Regions from separate parts of the Homo sapiens genome. Here region 1 is linked to region 2. Evidence: promoter capture Hi-C in 16 types of primary human blood cells and fetal thymus (Javierre and others, 2016). All regions are on one chromosome and are shown on one strand. The core of a region is centred on a gene start or on the middle of the fragment in contact, and the rest is flanking DNA. Distances in the headings are between cores, read along the strand shown. Region 1 has its middle 25 kb from the start of OR10H2. Region 2 holds the start of CYP4F11 (cytochrome P450 family 4 subfamily F member 11).

What was found. Contacts are between HindIII fragments. The CHiCAGO score rates a contact against its expected background, and 5 or more counts as called.
Region 1: a fragment that was not itself captured here is called in contact with the fragment with the promoter of CYP4F11 in region 2 in 1 of 17 cell types (M0 macrophages); the score reaches 5.3 in M0 macrophages.

Annotation. Positions count from the first base shown.
Region 1 is chr19:15,700,799-15,704,750 of GRCh38, forward strand. No RefSeq gene overlaps it. Among named protein-coding and RNA genes, the nearest start is that of OR10H2, 25 kb to the right of the region's middle. The HindIII fragment of the contact is 3,084 bases long and covers 329-3,412 here.
Region 2 is chr19:15,931,726-15,935,784 of GRCh38, forward strand. CYP4F11 (cytochrome P450 family 4 subfamily F member 11) reads right to left here and starts at 2,804. Exons shown (of 12, transcript NM_021187.4): 1 at 2,486-2,804. The coding sequence starts at 2,683. The HindIII fragment of the contact is 9,699 bases long and covers 1-4,059 here.

The DNA.
Region 1 (3,952 bases), core at 621-3,120, 230 kb before region 2:
AAATCCATGAATTTACACCCAGCTGAATTTCAACAAAGTTGCCAAGAATATTCAATGGGGAAAGGACAATCTCTTCAATAAATGATGGTGAAAGAACTGAATGTGTACATGCAGAAAATGAAACCAGATGCTTATCTCTTACCATATTCAAAAATCAAACCAAAATGGATAAAAGACTTAAATGCAAGACCTGAAACTATGAATTACTCGAAGAAAACATTGGGGAAATGCTTAAGGAAACTGATACGGGCAAGAAGTTTTTTGATAAGAACTCAACAGCATAGGCAACAAAGGTAAAATGGTGAAATGGGATTAAATCCAACAAAAAAGCTTCTTCAGAGCAAAGAAATCAATCAACAAAGTGAAGAGACAACCTACAGAATGAGAAGAAAAATTTGCACGTTTTCAGTCTGACAAAGGATTGGTAATCAGACCATATGAGGAACTCAGACAACTAATAGCAAAGGAAACCCAAAAATAATTCGAGTAAAAATGGGCAAATGATCTGAATAGACATTCCTCAAAAGAAGACATACCAATAGGTATATGAAGAGTTGCTCAACATTACTAACCATCTGGGAAATGGGAATCAAAACCACAGTGAGATAACATCTCACCCCCATTGAAATGGGGATTATAGAAAAGACAGTTTATTTATTTTTTTCCTGAGATGGTGGATTGGAGGGATTGTTAGCATGCTTCTCCCACTTGGAAGACAACATAGTGTGTAAAGATTCACACTGTGAAGTTTTTTCCAAGAAGTGACACAGGAACTTAACAGGAAAACTGAAAGAAACCACCCTTTGAAAGAAGCATCAGGCTGCAGCCTACACCACGAGCCAGGTGGACAACTGTAAGTCCCCAGAGTGTGAGAGAGGGTAAAGTGCCTCCAGGATATACAGTCCCACCGGGGAACCTGGTAATCCAGGCCACAGGGAAGGTCTTAATCCTTCCTTGTGGCAGGCCAACTGGGTGGCTGGGTCTTAATCCTTCTGAGTACTGGAGCTGACTTAGTAAGTGGTGGGAGTATATGAGAAGTGGCATCAGGGCAGGCATTCCCAGTCTCTGGCATTCCCAGTCTCCAGCAGGACAAAGGGAAGCCATTCCTGATCCTACCTCACAGGGGACCTCATGGACGTCTGCCAGCTAACACAGGTGGTGGTCACAGGTTGAGAGAAACTCCCAACTGAGATTCACAATATAATCTCAAGTAGGGATAACTCCCCCGTGGTCAGACCAAGAGGCAAGTGGGAAGTGAGCTGCAGCAACCAGCACAGGAGCTTGGTGTTCCTGCTTAATGGGCAAACCTGGAGAGGTGTGGCCTGAAAGCTGCAGATACTGGCTCAGCATTGGACTTTTGTGTCCCTGCTTAATGGGCAAACCTGGAGAGGTGTGGCCTGAAAGCTGCAGATACTGGCTCCTCAGGGAAGGCGTATGGCCTGGGGCACATTTGAATTCTGAGCACAGACTGCCTGGAACCTAGCTAGCTGCTGCTAGTGGAACACTGTGGGTGCAAGACCTGTCTTGCCAAGAGTGTAGGAGCTGGGTGTGGCTTATTGCCACCTGCTACTCCCCATTCCCCATACAGACTCTTCTGTGAAGCAGAGGCAGCTGTGCTCCTCCCTGGACATTATTCCTGCAACCAGAGAACCACTCTCTGATCCCCAGTGGGGCTACTGCTTTTGTCCAGAGGTGGAGAGCCAGAGTGCGGACTTGCCTGATTGAGCTCTCACTTGGCTTTGCCCCTCCACCTGCCCTGATATATTAATACGTAGGGCAGAAATTTTTGGGAGCCCTATGGCCCCCCCGCCCGGCCCGCCACTGCCTGAGACGCGAGAGTACCTCCTCTGGGTAACATAAGACAGACACAAATTCCACTGCTACCACCACAGCTGGTGTTATTTTGCAAGCGCCACCTCCTGGCTGTGGGCCAATTGACAGAGTCCATTATAGTATCTGCTTGCAAGCACAATAACAGCCAGCAGGAAGGAGAAAACTTGTGCATGACCTCAGCTATCACTATTGCCTGCATCCATCTGGTTAATCAGGAAGTTCTGAGTCTGTCCACATGACCAGTTTGTTAGTACCACAGCTGGCATTTGAGAAAGCCAACACACTAAGGCTACTTATAACTGAGCAATCTCACAGAATCTACATCACTCCCCTTCTTCCCCCATCAGAGCTGGGGCTGGTACCACTGCTGGGGGTTTTGAGGATCCGTTACTTGATTGGCCCCTTGCAGATATTCTCCAGCACCAGCATAAATTGTGGCAGCCCCACTGGGTGGCTAGACCAAGAGGAGCCGCAGCCTTCATAGTAGTCTGGCTCTCTGAGACTCCTACTTCTAGGGGGAAGGGGAGTGCACCGTATCAATGGAGCACACCATGGGACAAAAGATTCCAGATGGTAGACCTTGAGTCCCACTTTCCGCATATGAGAAGTTGCTTTTCTTTTTCTTTTTTTTTTTTTTTGAGACAGACTTTCGCTCTGTCCCCCAGGCTGGAGTGCAGTGGCGCAATCTCGGCTCACTGCACCTGGGTTCAGGCAATTCTCCTGCCTCAGCTTGCTGAGTAGCTGGGGTTACAGGCGCCTGCCACCGTGCCCAGCTAACTTCTTGTATTTTTAGTAGAGATGAGGATTTGCCATCTTGGCCGGCTAGTTTTCAACTCGTGATCCACTCGCCTCAGCCTCCCAAAGTGTTGGGATTACAGGCTTGAGCCGCTGTGCCTGGCAAGAAGTTTCTTTCAGCAGAGGCATAGGTGCAGTGCTGGGTTCAGTGGCGGAAATGTCTGCAGATCTACTTCAACAGTCAGGCACTTCTGGGGATCAATGAAGGGTCTTAGAGAAGGGGACTTTTTCTTCCCCTTGTCCACTACTGCAGACACAGCTGCAGCTTCTCCCATGACAGCTTGGCATGGCTACACATGTAGACATTCATTCTCTCTGGAATAGTTCAGAGTGACTGCATTCTATAGGAGGAGCACTCTCCAGGTTCAGGCTTGCATGAGTGGCAGAGCCCCAGTCCCTCTCTACAGGGAATATCAGCATTCCTGCAAATGAAAAGAGGTGCCTATCTGATCTGACTAGTCAGATCACTGGGTCAGGAGTGTATCTGGGAGGTGGGTAGGTTTCCTGCTGTCCTGGCAGGGGAGCTGAGGAGGCTCCCTCCCTTCCCCTTGAAAAGACCTCCATGTGTTTCCCTGAGAGCTCCCCCAACCACATCTGTCAAGGATGGCACCTTTGCCCCCCACTGGGAACTGCATTGACCAAACTGCTTTAACCACAGCTGGTTTTTATTCATGGATACCTCCCTTGAGTGGCCTAAAGCCTGAACTGTTCATCCAGGTAAAAAAAAAAAAGGTTGGGGGGATATAAATAAATAAATAAATGCATACTACTGGGGAATGAGATAAGCTTCAAGAGACCTCTGCCCTTCCAACACCAACAGAAACAGTGAACCTGCCCTCACACTGAGCACATTGCTACTACAACTAGCATCTGAGAAAGCCACCATACAAAGACTCCGTATAACCAAGGAACTCATACAGAGTCTGCACCCACGAAAGCACCCAGAGCCATAGGTTACAATAAACTCTAAACATCAAAGTCACATCCTCAAAGGGAAAAAAGATCTAAGAAACATCACAATTAATCAAAAATAAGTTCAAAAATAATTAGAAGAAGCAGTCTAACCAGGTGAGTGGAAATCAGAAAAATAATTCTGGCAATATGACAAAACAGGGTTCTATAACAACCATTAGCTCTCCAGCAATAGATCCAAACCAAGAAGAAATCTTTGAAATACCAGATAAAGAATTCAAAAGATTAATTATTAAGTTACTCAAGGAGATACAAGGGAGAACTGAAAACCAGCATAAATAAATTTAAAAATTAATTCAGGATATAAATAAAACTTTTCTAAAGAAATAGCTATTTTAAAGAAAAATCAATC
Region 2 (4,059 bases), core at 1,554-4,053:
AGAGGAATGAGTGAGTGAGGAGAGGAATGAGTGAGTGAGGAGAGGAATGAGTGAGTGAGGAGAGGAATGAGTGAGTGAGGAGAGGAATGAGTGAGTGAGGAGAGGAATGAGTGAGTGAGGAGAGGAATGAGTGAGTGAGGAGAGGAATGAGTGAGTGAGGAGAGGAATGAGTGAGTGAGGAGAGGAATGAGTGAGTGAGGAGAGGAATGAGTGAGTGAGGAGAGGAATGAGTGAGTGAGGAGAGGAATGAGTGAGTGAGGAGAGGAATGAGTGAGTGAGGAGAGGAATGAGTGAGTGAGGAGAAGAATGAGTGAGTGAGGAGAGGAATGAGTGAGTGAGGAGAAGAATGAGTGAGTGAGGAGAGGAATGAGTGAGTGAGGAGAAGAATGAGTGAGTGAGGAGAGGAATGAGTGAGTGAGGAGAAGAATGAGTGAGTGAGGAGAGGAATGAGTGAGTGAGGAGAGGAATGAGTGAGCGAGGAGAGGAATGAGTGAGCGAGGAGAGGAATGAGTGAGCGGGGAGAGGAATGAGTGAGTGGGGAGAGGAATGAGTGAGTGAGGAGAGGAATGAGTGAGCGAGGAGAGGAATGAGTGAGCGAGGAGAGGAATGAGTGAGCGAGGAGAGGAATGAGTGAGCGGGGAGAGGAATGAGTGAGCGGGGAGAGGAATGAGTGAGTGAGGAGAGGAATGAGTGAGCGAGGAGAGGAATGAGTGAGCGGGGAGAGGAATGAGTGAGCGGGGAGAGGAATGAGTGAGTGAGGAGAGGAATGAGTGAGTGAGGAGAGGAATGAGTGAGTGAGGAGAAGAATGAGTGAGTGAGGAGAAGAATGAGTGAGTGAGGAGAGGAATGAGTGAGTGAGGAGAGGAATGAGTGAGTGAGGAGAGGAATGAGTGAGTGAGGAGAGGAATGAGTGAGTGAGGAGAGGAATGAGTGAGTGAGGAGAGGAATGAGTGAGTGAGGAGAGGAATGAGTGAGTGAGGAGAGGAATGAGTGAGTGAGGAGAGGAATGAGTGAGTGAGGAGAGGAATGAGTGAGTGAGGAGAGGAATGAGTGAGTGAGGAGAGGAATGAGTGAGTGAGGAGAGGAATGAGTGAGTGAGGAGAGGAATGAGTGAGTGAGGAGAGGAATGAGTGAGTGAGGAGAGGAATGAGTGAGTGAGGAGAGGAATGAGTGAGTGAGGAGAGGAATGAGTGAGTGAGGAGAGGAATGAGTGAGTGAGGAGAAGAATGAGTGAGTGAGGAGAGGAATGAGTGAGTGAGGAGAGGAATGAGTGAGTGAGGAGAGGAATGAGTGAGTGAGGAGAGGAATGAGTGAGTGAGGAGAGGAATGAGTGAGTGAGGAGAGGAATGAGTGAGTGAGGAGAAGAATGAGTGAGTGAGGAGAGGAATGAGTGAGCGAGGAGAGGAATGAGTGAGCGGGGAGAGGAATGAGTGAGTGGGGAGAGGAATGAGTGAGTGAGGAGAGGAATGAGTGAGTGAGGAGAGGAATGAGTGAGTGAGGAGAGGAATGAGTGAGCGGGGAGAGGAATGAGTGAGCGAGGAGAGGAATGAGTGAGTGAGGAGAGGAATGAGTGAGTGAGGAGAGGAATGAGTGAGTGAGGAGAAGAATGAGTGAGTGAGGAGAAGAATGAGTGAGTGAGGAGAGGAATGAGTGAGTGAGGAGAGGAATGAGTGAGTGAGGAGAGGAATGAGTGAGTGAGGAGAAGAATGAGTGAGTGAGGAGAGGAATGAGTGAGTGAGGAGAAGAATGAGTGAGTGAGGAGAGGAATGAGTGAGTGAGGAGAAGAATGAGTGAGTGAGGAGAGGAATGAGTGAGTGAGGAGAAGAATGAGTGAGTGAGGAGAGGAATGAGTGAGTGAGGAGAAGAATGAGTGAGTGAGGAGAAGAATGAGTGAGTGAGGAGAGGAATGAGTGAGTGAGGAGAAGAATGAGTGAGTGAGGAGAGGAATGAGTGAGTGAGGAGAAGAATGAGTGAGTGAGGAGAAGAATGAGTGAGTGAGGAGAGGAATGAGTGAGTGAGGAGAAGAATGAGTGAGTGAGGAGAGGAATGAGTGAGTGAGCAGAGGAATGAGTGAGTGAGGAGAAGAATGAGTGAGTGAGGAGAAGAATGAGTGAGTGAGGAGAGGAATGAGTGAGTGAGCAGAGGAATGAGTGAGCGAGAAGAGGAATGAGTGAGTGGGCAGAGGAATGAGTGAGCGGGGAGAGGAATGAGTGAGCGGGGAGAGGAATGAGTGAGCGGGGAGAGGAATGAGTGAGCGGGGAGAGGAATGAGTGAGTGGGCAGAGGAATGAGTGAGTGGGCAGAGGAATGAGTGAGCGGGGAGAGGAATGAGTGAGTGGGCAGAGGAATGAGTGAGCTGCCTCCCTCTCTTCTCTGTGTTCCCACACCCCAGCCACCCTCAAAACCCAGCTCCCTGAGCCCCATTCCTGCCCCTCAGGAACTCCATGCATCCTGAGACCCCAGACCCGTCCTGCTGACAAACTCACCAGGCCCTGGTGTCCCCAAAACCAGTTCTGTTTCGGGGGTTGAGGAAAACACTGGAGGCGGCGGCAGTTGTCATAGAAGGTGTAGGTCCAGGCCAGGACGCGGGCCAGGAGCCAGGAGCCTCCAACCAGCAGCAGAAGCAGCCACGGGGATGCTGCCACGGGCCCGAGGCCCAGCCAGGACAGGCTCAGCTGCGGCATCCTGCAGGGCAGACGGGATGGAGGGTGGGATCCTGAGGCCCAGGGAAGGGCCCAGGAAGCTCCAAGGACAGTGGAAAGGGGCAAGGATGGGCAGTGCTGGAGGCAGATCAGGGAAGGCTCTGAGATGGGTAAACAAGAGCTGAGATCTAAAGTCCAGAAATGCCCAATGAAAACCAGCAGCCAAGTGGCCTCCAGTTACACAGAAAGGGAAAGAGAGAGAGAGGCTGATTAGAATCCAAAAAGGCCCAGCCTGAATCACTGGGAGGTTGCCAGGGGTCCAGTTACCAGGAAATCACCAGTCTCCCAGGCCAGCAGCCTTGACCCACCCCAACCTTGGGCAGTCCCCTCCCCATCCCAGGCCAGGACCCTCCAGCCCTGCCACTGCCAGCCTGGCTCCTATCAGAAGCAGCTTGTCCCACATACCCTCCTCTCCCCCTCTGCTAGGAGGTCTTTGCCTCTGGCCCCTGATTTCCGGAAGGCTGTGGGAGGCGAGGCTGGGCTGGGCTGGTCGAGCCAATCCCCATGGACTGGGTGTGTCTTCCAAGCCTGGGCAACCAACCAAAACCTGGCGTAGGGCCAGCTGGGTGCAGAGGAGCCAGCTCAGGGTGACACAGCATGGGCACAGGATCCGCAGGTCTCAACATCTCACACCTGAGTGGGAGGGGATCTTGAGGAAGAGTCAAAGGTGACTCTGAGCCCCAAAGTTTACAGCCACCTTGCCCTTCCAAGGCAAGAGTGTGGCAGATAAAGTCATGAACTTGAGAGTTCAGGTGGCAAGAGAGTGGGGCCAGGCCAACCATTGTGCCAGATCATGTTCTGAGCTCCTCTCCACATGTGGTCCAGGAGTTCATCATGCACCATTTCTCAGTGCAGACTTAGGAGATTCAGAGACAGAAGCTCCTGGCCTCTGGCTTCACAGTCTGGCAGGAGTTCAAGTCCTGCCTCCAGGCAACCCAGGGCCTGGGTCGAGACATGACTGACAGGAGTAGGAACAAACTATCTAACTGTGCTGGGGATTACCCGGTCAGATTTTAGAGATAAAGAGCCCCGCTGGAGGAGAATACCTGGAGGCTAGGTTCAGCATAGGAGGACAGAGAGGGGAGATGGGAGGTAAGGCTGAGAGGGGCCATGAGTGGATGGGGCCAGGGACAGGAGGGCAGAGATGGGGGACCCTGAGTGGAGTCCTTATTCTGCCCTCCCCTTGCCCTAACTGTGGGTAGTGAGCCCCTCCTGGACTCAGGCTTCCCATCTGGGAAATGGGATGTCAGATAAGGCCTTAGAGGGGGACAGAGGAGGGATCACAGGAAAATGGGCCTTAGATGGGGACAGATGAAAGATTCTGAGGAGGGAGTGAAGGGAAGGGGCTGGCAGCTAGC